2 separate regions of the Homo sapiens genome follow, and region 2 is linked to region 1. The links are contacts of gene promoters, found by promoter capture Hi-C in blood cells and fetal thymus (Javierre and others, 2016). All regions are on one chromosome and are shown on one strand. Each heading gives the region's core, a stretch centred on a gene start or on the middle of the fragment in contact. The rest is flanking DNA. Distances are from core to core; before and after follow the strand shown.

Region 1 (5,727 bases), core at 1,186-3,685:
ATGGGTAGCTTTGGGGTGAGGACTGGGAATTAACCTGTTGATAGCAGAGGTTCACTAGAGTCAACAAGGAATAAGGTCTCCTCTTGTACACTTTAGTCATACTATACCAACATTCTTAACCACTGCTTAGCCATCAGCCTCACAACATAACAACTCCATCATAGTTGTACTCCCTAAGATCACCAACAATGTTAGAGTCAAATCCGGTAGGTTTTTCTTTGTTTTTGTCCTCCTGACATTTTTTCTAAACTTGACACTGGTCAGACCCAATCTTTCTTTAATCATATTCTTAAATACCAGTTCTATCACTGGATATGTTACTGTTTCTTGTTCTCACTCTACCTTTGACAAAGCCATTCTTTCCAGACTATAACTCTGGGTCTGGGTCCCCCTATGGTTTGGCCCTTGAATTCTTTTCCTAGTCCTATTTGACTAGCCCCATTTTCCCGTGAAAAGCATGCCCCTTTCATTGCATCCATATCATGACTACCAAATACCTCCTCTATTTCTTCCTCTTTTAGCATGTTAAATGCAGCTTCCTAAGCTCTCTATCTGGATATCAACAGTATTCTCTCCAAATAATTCTAAGACTTTAAAAATTGGTTTAATCTTCTTACCCCTAAAATCACCCCCCTTACCAACTGCCTCATGACAATCATTGGTACTGTCACTGAGCTTGCAACCCATGTTCTTAAACATAGAGTAATCTTTGACTCCACATCTAATCATTCATAAAGCTGTATTGTCTATCAAATTAAATCTGACATTTATGTGAGAGCACTTCATAGTCTGTAAAGCACTACACAGGTGATAACATGAAGCTACACTCATAATGGATTTGCAGGCTCTGCTTCTCATTTGGCTTCTACAGCCTCATCCCTCACCAACTTCTTGCCCTACCTCTCTCTTTCTTCCCCATCACCCAATTTCCCAGTCAGTCAGGCCAACAGAATGCATTCTATATACGCGACTTGCTTTCCCCAACATCTTTGCCTGTATGCATGCCACTTATTTGCCTCAGTTGATCTTTATTTCAACAAGTGTTTGCAGAGGAGAAACCTCGCTGGCTCCTTCTCCTTTCTATTTTTTTTCAGAGGCTACCCGTCAGGTCAACATTGCCTTTTTCAGGGAAGCTCTGCAAGCCTGACCTCCCTTGGAAGTGCCTTAGGACTGGCTTCTTGCACAGTACACAACCTTTACTTATAGAGGGTTTGGAGATTATTCTTTATTCATGTCTTATTTCTCCTGCTCCTGGAGGAGATGACTCTGACTTCCACTGACTCTTTTGGGGGGCTTAAGTCAGGGTTGAGTACCAGAGGCCCTAAATAGCTGGACGTGGATTCTGGTAATATCAAATCCATCTTTGGCTTAACTGAGAGGTTCTGAAAGCTGGGACCTGACCTTGTCCATTTCCCTCTTTCTCCAGTTTCCTATTATTTCCCACTGTTTTTTTTAAAAGTTTTTTGTTTTCTTAAGTTTTCACAAGAATAAACATTGAAAATAAAATTTGCACAAAGATCGAACTAGGAAAGGCCACACAACCAACACATATTACATCATTATAGGTAAGTTAGCAGGGAGATTTCAGACCTGGGCTAGCTCTGGAACCACATTTTACACTGTTGAAAATAAAAGCTGGAGTACAGATGACTTTCCCAGGTTCACAGAGTTGGTAAGCTGGAGAGCTGCACCTGGAGCCAAGCAACCTGCCCTGTCCTTTCCACTGCACCCTCTAAGAAATCTAATTAGAAGGAACAGGTGGTATCTCATTTTGTACGGTGCTTTAGCAATGTACTATTTGCTTTCTAGTGTGTCTATTGTCTCGTTTGACATCTTCTCTCAAAAAGTGATGAAACGAAACGCTCTTTTTGACAAGTTCAGAGTGCTCTTGGTTCCTGTGTGGGATTCTTCCAAGTCTGAATTTGGTAGTGGGAAGAGAAGGAATCCGGAGGAAGGAGGATGAGAAGTTTAAAGGAGAGGAAAGGGAAGCAGAGAAGGCCGCAAGGTGCCTGCAAGATGTCTGGGGAGTTGGAGGAATGGAAGAGTGCCCCGCTCTTCCTTCTGGGAGAGCTCCAGCTAGGCAGAACCTTTCACCAAGGCTCTGATATCGTGCTGGTTTCCGAAAGCCCCAGCCGAAGGTGTGCAGCCAAAGGGTGACAGAAGGTGAGGCACGTGCGGGGGCGCGGGTGCTGACCGCCGCGGTGCGCCCTCCCTCCGACGTGCGGTGTGCGGGGCGCAGACAACCAGCGGCCGGCCCAGGGCTTTCGGGGAGCGAAGCAGGGCTCCCGAGGCACCGAGCGAGAATGGGAATGGGAGGGACCCGGTGCTCCCGGACACGCCCCCGGCAGGTCCCACGCCCGGGTCTTCTGAGACCTCGCGCGGCCCAGCCCGGGAGCGGCCCAGCTATATAAGTCCCAGCGGAAGACCGGAACGCAGAGGGTCCTGCTGGCGCGAGGGTGGGTAGGAGGGGACGCGGGGACTCGGCCCCCAACACCGCGCTCCGTCTGCAGCCGCCGCCTCTGCACCGCCGCTGCCCGGCGGTCGGTTCAAAAAACAGAAATCGGGTTTGCTGCCCGGCGGACAGGCGTGAAGAGCAAGGGAAAGGAACTTCCTCCACCTTCGGGGCTGGAGCCCTTTTCCTCTGCATCTCCAGTCTCTGAGTGAAGATGGGGGGCCTGACAGCCTCGGACGTACACCCGACCCTGGGGGTCCAGCTCTTCTCAGCTGGAATAGCGGCGTGCTTGGCGGACGTGATCACCTTCCCGCTGGACACGGCCAAAGTCCGGCTCCAGGTAGCTAGGCAGAGGGGTAAGACAAGGGGTCTCAGGACAGAGGGGACGCTGTTGCGTGCATTCCATTTATTCTCTGCTTTGGTGTAACCACTGTTTCTAGGTAGGGTAGGTGACCTTCCAAAGCAGTCTGGCCTTGTCCCAGGGCTGGTGCTTTAGGATGGGAAACTGGAACTTTTTCTGGGATTAGCTGAAGAACCACCAGGGCCACAGAGAATGGGTTGACCATGACTACTACCAAATTCTCCCAAAATTTAGGGTGCACTTAGTATTTTAAGAGCTGAGAATATTGGCCTCTCCTGAGTTTACTAGTCAGGTGCTTTTTCCTTTCTTTGATTCTTCGGGGGTTCTGTCCTATCCTACTGCCCTAGGGGTTCTGGAGAGTTCCTGGGGAGGGGGATATTCAAAATGTGCATTGTAGCCAGCCTCCCTCCATCTGCGCGTGAGCGAACACACACACACACACACACACACACACACACACACACACACACACACGGTAGAGGGAGGTGGATGGAAGAGGAATGTTGCTGAGAAAAGAAACGGAAAATAGGAACACAGGGGGAAATCTTGGCTTAAGAGTGAACTCAATTTCGCTCCCTTCTGTTCTGCACCTTTCTTATTTCCAGGTCCAAGGTGAATGCCCGACGTCCAGTGTTATTAGGTATAAAGGTGTCCTGGGAACAATCACCGCTGTGGTAAAAACAGAAGGGCGGATGAAACTCTACAGCGGGCTGCCTGCGGGGCTTCAGCGGCAAATCAGCTCCGCCTCTCTCAGGATCGGCCTCTACGACACGGTCCAGGAGTTCCTCACCGCAGGGAAAGAAAGTAAGCCGTGAGCGTTCCTGGGAGGGGCAGAAAAGCCTTGGGCTCCGCTCTGTTCCAAAAAGTGTAACACACAGAGGAGTGGTTTTCATAACAAATTGGCGAGAAAACATTCATATTTGAACTCTCCCTTCCCCAAACATTAGCTCATTGTTCATAGAAAAAAGTATGCAAAATCGATTTTTTAGATGCAGATATATACTTGTAAAGGTCACCCAGTCATGGAAGTTTTGTGCCCAGTTTGGATCTCCATCTGGAGAATATGGGTGGGCTACAGAAAAATGTTTAACTTAAAGTTCTCCAAAGAGGGAAGTATATCAGAAACATCTATGGAGCTTGTCAGAAATCCAAACGAGGACTACCATGGTCCTCTGAGTCTGAATCCTCAGGCTAGAGACCAGAGTGTCTTTCCACAAGCTTCCCTCATCATTTGTGTATGCAACAAAGTTCAAAGCCTTCTGTTTGAAGCAAAGAAAGCCAGACTTTGTGAAGAGAGTTGAAAGGACAGGAAAAGACATATTTCCTCTTAAGAGGTTCCTCATCAGGTCCAGGAAAGACCAGAGCAGAAAAAGTGGACGAATGCTGCAGGGAGTTTGTTTAGGGGAAAAAGAAAAGGAAACATATTTCCTGAGTGCCAGTGCACTCTAAGAATTCCTGTCACTTTAGGTAGCATTTATTTGAGGGCTTAACTATGAACCAGACATTGTTCTAAGTGCTTCAGATACATTATAACTGGAAGGGTATTAGTACCATTATCCCTTGGCAGATGGGAAAACTGAACACAGAGCAGATTCATCACTTGCCCAAGGTCACACAGCTGGGAGGGGGCAGAGCCAGGGTTCAAACCCAGGCAGTCTGGCCTCGGACTCCAGGCTCCTAACCCTGTTCTCTACTGCCTTCTGCACTTCTCATATGATTCTGCCCATCATTCAAACCGCACAACACTGCTGTGAGTAAAAAGTGTTAGCCGAATATCAGGGTAGTTAAGTAACATGCACAAAATCACACAGCTAATCAACATCAGAGGCACTTTCATGTGGAGTAGACAAGCCAGAGAGAAGATGTGCTGATGGCACAATGAATACATTAAGTGAAATCCACCTTGTAGATTTCATCATTTCTGCTGTGAGTAACCTTCAATACTATAATTTTATGGGATAATTTATAAATGTTGTCTATACAAATATATAAGTTATACTTATCCACACAAGTACTTTCAAAGTGAAGATAAAGTCTGGATGTTACTAGATCAAAACTGCATTTTTTTATTTATAGATGTAGCAAGAGAGGAAACACAAAGGAGGTAAAGCTGCCCGTTCAGGTGGTTTTCTTCACAGATTGACTGTTCTACCAATTGTTGTGGACTTTGGGCACCAAATTAATAGGATATATGTTGGCAGTGTTCTATGTTATATAGATTCAGTTTATTTAGTAGGCTTTATTGAACTGCCATGTGCCAGTAACTATGTTAGATGTTTAGATGGCAGATGTGTCTCTAGACAGAGCTTACAGTTGAGAGTATGGGTTGTGTGGGGAGAAGTGAATAGATGACTATATTCCATGATACATGCTGTATTACAATACAGTCCTACTTCACTTAACGATGGGGATACATTCTCAGAAATGAGTTAGGAGGCAAATTGGTTGTTGAATGAACATCACAGAGAGCACTTACACAAACCTAGATGGCATAGCCACACCTAGGCTATATGGTATAATCTATTGCTCCTAGGCTACAAACCTGTGCAGCATGTTGGTATTGAATACTACAGGCAATTGTTACATAAAGTTAAGTGTTTGTGTACCTAAAAATAGAAAAGGTAATGCATTACACTACAGTCTTATGGGGCTGGGATGTCACTAGGTGATAGGAATTTTTCAGCTCTGTTCTAATCTTACGGGACCACCATCATGTATGCAGCACATGACTAACTGTAATTACAAGATGGTGGCTATATTAAACAGAACTACTTAAGCTAGCCATGGAGGTATGGTCCGTGAGATTTTCCTGAAGAATTAACGTCTGGATCAATTCTGGAAGGGCCAGCAGGAGTACTCCAGGCAAAGGGGTGAGAAAGGAGCTTCCAAGTAGAGTGAAGGTCATGTGCAAAGA
Region 2 (5,429 bases), core at 356-2,855, 210 kb after region 1:
GTTTGAAAGCACCAATCTCCACCATGTCTTCTTCTGTTAATTCCTCTGCTGTGGTATCTGTTAGCTCTTACATTTCTCCAAGATCCAGATCTTGAAACCCTTCACTTTTCACTTTTTTTTTTTTTTTGCCATATCCATATCTTTCATGATTTCTTTGATTGGCTCTGTGGTAAATCCTGTGAAGTCATGCACAATATCTGGATAGTTTTCTTCAGCAGGAATTTATTATTTCAATCTTGATGACCTTCACAACTTTTTTTTATAACAACGATGACATCTTCAATGGTGTAATCATTCCAGACTGTCATGATGCTCTCTCTATCAGAATTCTCTTCCATGGCATTGACAGTCCTTTCCATTGAGTACCCTGTGTAATAAGGCTTAAGGGTTCTTAAGAGCCAAGGATCTAGAAGCTGAATTAAAGACATTGTGTTTGGGGGCAAGTAGACCACATTGACAGCTTCAGTTTTGACCTCATGGGGTTCTGGGTGGCCAGAGGCACTGTCCAATATCAGAAAAAAATTTAAAGGTAGTCCCTATGGGCAAGGTAATTCCTGACTTCAGGGACAAAGCATTGATGGAAACAATCCAGAAAAAGGGTTCTCATTGTCTGGGCCTTCTTGTTGTACAGCCATTAAGACTGGCAGCTGATGTTTTTCTTTTCCCTTCAAGGCTCAGGGATGAGCAGCTTTATAGATAAGGGCAGTCCTGATCATAACCCCCCTGCATTTGCACAAAACAGTATAGGTAGCCTATCCCTTCCTGCCTTAAATCCTGGTGCTCACTTCTCTTCCTTACTAATAAATGTCCTTTGTGGATTTTTTTTCCAGAATAGGGCACTTTGATCTGCATTAGAAACCTGTTCAGGCAGATATTCTGTCTCCTCAATGATTTTCTTAATGGCATCTGGAAACTTGTCTGCTGTCTCTTGATTGGCAGAAGCTTCTTCTTTAATTATCTTGACATTTTTAAAGCCAAACCTCTTCCTAAAATTATTAAGCCATCCTTTGCCAGCATTAAATTCTTCAGGTTTACATCCTTCGCCTTCCTTTTGCTCTAAGTTGTCATATAATGACTTCGCTTTTTCTCAAATCACATCACAGTAGGTATGCCTTTCTTATAGCAATCCTGCATTCCCACAGAAAAACTGCATTTTCAATACTAGATAAAAAGGTATTTTGCAAAAAGTGTAAGTTTTTCATGCTTGCTGGTGTAGCTGCAGTGATAGCTTCATGAATTTCCTTTTCTTTTTTTACAATCTTTCTTAAGCTGAATTCATTTATCTTGAAACGGTGGGCAACCACAGCTGCAGACTTCAATCTGCAATACATATCAAGCAATTCAACTTTGTCTTGTAATGTCATGAATTTTCTCTGCTTCTTGGGAGCACTTCCAGCATCACTAGTGGCACTTTGTATGGGTGCCATGGTGTTATTCAAGGTTTACAGTATTGCACTAAACACAATGAAAAAACACTAGAGAACCACAAGAGATTACTTTTTACTGCTATAGGCAATTTACCAGAGAGATGAACTGCTCACACAGAGATAATTAGCATCCCATGGCATTTTAAGTGGATACTCACAGCACTTAAGCTCACAGCAATAGCAGCAGGAAGTGGCTGTGAAATTATGATGGTAGTACAGTATGTACTACAGTTAATTTTATGCACTTATGGTTTAATACAGCATCTGTACATTTGTTTACATTTCTCTCAACTGCAAATGGTGCCATGTGTGCTCTGTAAGCATGTGCATAAGTTTTGATAAATTGTAACTTTTTATAATAGATTTGTGATATTTTATGGTAATAGTAACACAGACTAGTATCTACATATGTTTATGCATTTGTGACATACCTAATTTTTTATATATTTCTAGGCTATGAAGTTTGTGAATTTTTCCAAATTGTCACAATCTCCAAAAAATTTTCCATTATATTTACTGAAAAAAATGCATACAAGTGGACTCATGCAGTTCAAACCCATGGTGTTCAAAGGTCAGCTGCACTTACAAGCTAACGATTGCCTGTTTCATGAATGCTGGCGGAAGACATGAGATGTCTGGGTCAGAGTCTAAGGACTCTCTTACTCCCAGCTCATCATGAGCTTCATGCTGATTTGTTGCTGTTACCTATGTCCCCCAAGTCCCACAGGGATGAGGCAGAGGGCCCCTGTAGATGCCTATACATGCAGCGGGTTATAATATAGGAGAGGAACATTGAGTTTGGGGAATCTTTGGCTTTTATGGCAAGTGGAAGCAAGCTTGCTCTTTAACCAGAGAGGCATTACCTCATCCCTTAAAGTTGCTCTCTGAAAACATACCTGAGTAAAGCCTGGGTTGACTGTATTCTTGGCATACCAGCAAGAATATGCAATGACACTCAGGGCCCATCCCAGTTTGCTTCTCCCAAAAACCTCTAAATTGAATGATCTTTAGTTCTGTGTCAAACTCCTGTTTTTCTTCCTCCTTCCTTATATAGTATCCTAAGGGAAATACCACAAAATGTCTCAGAAAATGTTGGTTGGATATCTAAAGTTTAAAAAGGAAGAGAACCACACCAGCTGGAGATTAAAGAAGCATCAGTAGAAGTCAGTGGCCATTAATAGAAATATTTTTAAAATAAGTCAAGTAGTATTTTTGTAGCTCCCTCCCTAACCTTTCTTTTCCACTATTTGACCAAACCCTACAACAATAAGAAGTAACAGCTGGGCACAGTGGCTCACGCCTGTAATCCCAGCACTTTTGGTGGCTGAGGTGAGCAGATCACTTGAGGTCAGGAGTTCCAGACCAACTTGGCCAATATAGTGAAACCCTGTCTGTAATAAAAATACAAAAATTAGCCGGGCATGGTGGCTTGGCCTGTAGTCTCAGCTACTTGGGAGGCTGAGGCAGGAGAATCGCTTGAACCCAGGAGGTGGAGGTTGCAGTGAGCCAAGATCACACTACTGCACTCCAGCCTGGGCAGCAGAGCGAGACTCTCACAAAAAAAAAAAAAAAAGAAGAAGAAGAAGAAGAAGAAGTAAGGACACACCTGTCTTTAGCCGGTCTTTAGTTTGTTTTAAAACAATTGCTTAAAATTAGTAATTACCAGGATAGTTAGTAACACTCATCGCAGTGAAGCAAATCATGCCCAGTGTGAAGCAAAGATATGGCCAGGCTCTCTCTTTCCTTCTTCAGTGAAGGCAGAAAACTAAAGAAAGCCTTGCTACTAAGGGATAGGGGCTGTGTCTGTGTCGTGCTCAGAATCACTCTCAGTGTCTGCTCTAAAGGCTGATGACAACCAATTTAAATCAAGTTCAAGTCCCCTTCAGCCTTAGAAGAAATAGCTCCTCAAGTTATTGAAAGAGCCCAGAATTCCTTGCAACTCATTCTTTATTATAGAATTATGAGTTCTAGAGTTTGTAGATTTTCTTTTTGTACTACATGAAGCGCATTACAAGAAAGTATCTTGTAGCTTTCATTTTGGGAGAAAATAGATGTAGTCCTCAGAGGTATTCTGAATCCATTCTTGTCACTCACAGAAGTTTCTTCACAGGAGATCTCCATGACTCTTTACGTTTCAAGGTATTAATTTTACTTGGAGCATTGTTTGTCCCACCCAAAGAGTTTTACGTTAAAATACATTATTTTATTTATTTAGAGAGAGGATCTCACTTTGTCACCAAGGCTGGAGTGCAGTGGCACAGTCATGGCTCACTGCAGCCTCAACTTCCTGGGCTCAAGTGATTCTCTTGCCTCAGCCTCTCAAATAGCTGGGACTACAGGCACAGAACCATGCCTCGCTAATCTTATTTCTTGTAGAGATGAGGTCTCATTATATTGCCCAGGCTGGTCTCAAACTCCTGGGCTCAAGTGATCCTCCCACCCTGGCCTTCCAAAATGTTGAGATCACAAGTGTGAGCCACTGCGCTGGCCTAAAATACAGTTTAATAGAGTTTTTCCTAACAAGCACCATTGGCCGCAACTGAAGTCAGCATTTTAACATTGTCACGTGACAGTCAGTTCTAGCTTTGATATAAAAGTCCTAAAGTGTACTCTTAGCATCACTTTCCAGAAAAAAAAAAAAAAACCCACTGCCGTGCTGCAAGGGACCATTGACAGAAATGGTGATTACAGTGCCTGTCCCTACAGGTCTGTCAGCAAGATAAAATAAGAAAATCTGAGAGAAGTTGCCTGGCATGGTGTCAGTACTCTTGGCATACCAGCAAAAATATGTAGCGAAACTCAGGGCCCATCCCAGCCTGCTTCTCCCAAAAACCTCTAAATGGAATAATCTTTAGTTCTGTGTCAAATTCCTATTTTTCTTCCTCCTTCTTTATACAGTATCTTAAGGGAAATACTACAAAATGTCGCAGAAGGTGCTGGATGGATATCTAAAGTTCAAAAAGGAAGAGAACCACACGAGCTGGAGATTCAGGAAGCATCAGTAGAAGTCAATGGCCATTAATAAAAACATTTTTTATTAAAATATTGAATCTGAATAGAAACCTCCTGTACTTCATTTCTTAAATCCCTTGAGGGTAGTAACTGCATCTTCTCCATTGATATAGCCCCTGCCAAGCACAGTGCCTGAAGGCAGGTCCACAGACATTGGCTGAATAAACGAGTGCTCTGTTCCCAGTCCGTACTTTCTCTGTGTCATAAAAAAGCTGACATGTCTGTGCTGCATTTGAGGATGACACTGGATTTCCACATTGCCTTTTCGCCTCAGAGCTTATATTACTTCCTATCAAGTTATCTCTCTGCCCCTCATCGCATCCCAGTGAGAAAGCAGAAAATCCTAGAAAGTCATTTTCCTTACTGTTCCGGTGGTGGCTCTTCACGCTTACAGAACGTTAGGTACACTGGGAACATCACCTAGAGGGACACTGACATCACCTCATCATAACATATGTCTCTGACAACTGTCAGGAGATATTCCAAGTAAATGAAAAGACACCGTGAATGCCACTTAGGGGTTCTACACAGGGAACTATTAGTGACAAAAGCCTATTTATTCTCTTTGAGATGGTATGCTGGTGACCTCTAGTGGCAAAATTGGTTCAAAATCAGCTTCTATTTCCCACAAAATTTACTTCTTTATTAATTCATACTTTAATTTTATCCTTTAGTAACATTCTCTACTTGTGGAATGTTCTTAATTATGCACAATGATTTGTGTCTGTTCATATCCAAGTAGCACAATTTTGGCATTTCACGAAATCACAGAACTGTTGAGCTGAAATAGTTCTCAAGGGACCTGTCAGTCTTATTTCATTATACCTGGAAAATGAGACCCAGAGGAGTCAAGTGGCTTGCCTGAAGCCTCACCACAAGGGGGCGACAAAAAGTCTTCTGACTCTAGCACACTGCCTGCCTGGTAGTAGAACCCAAGCGACTAAAGAAAAAATGGGATCTTGTTTAGAGTTCCATGCGGAGGAAGAGCAT

The links. The method cuts DNA at HindIII sites, captures the fragments that hold promoters and counts their contacts. A CHiCAGO score of 5 or more calls a contact.
Region 2: a contact is called between a fragment that was not itself captured here and the fragment with the promoter of UCP1 in region 1, in 1 of 17 cell types (endothelial precursors). The highest score is 5.3, in endothelial precursors.

Annotation. Positions count from the first base shown.
Region 1 is chr4:140,565,669-140,571,395 of GRCh38, reverse strand. It overlaps UCP1 (uncoupling protein 1), which reads left to right and starts at 2,435. Exons shown (of 6, transcript NM_021833.5): 1 at 2,435-2,792; 2 at 3,419-3,617. The coding sequence starts at 2,667. The HindIII fragment of the contact is 4,953 bases long and covers 1-4,033 here.
Region 2 is chr4:140,359,871-140,365,299 of GRCh38, reverse strand. The region is part of intron 2 of SCOC-AS1 (SCOC antisense RNA 1); the gene reads left to right. It also overlaps a transcript of SCOC not described here. Among named protein-coding and RNA genes, the nearest start is that of SCOC-AS1, 11 kb to the left of the region's middle. The HindIII fragment of the contact is 1,321 bases long and covers 945-2,265 here.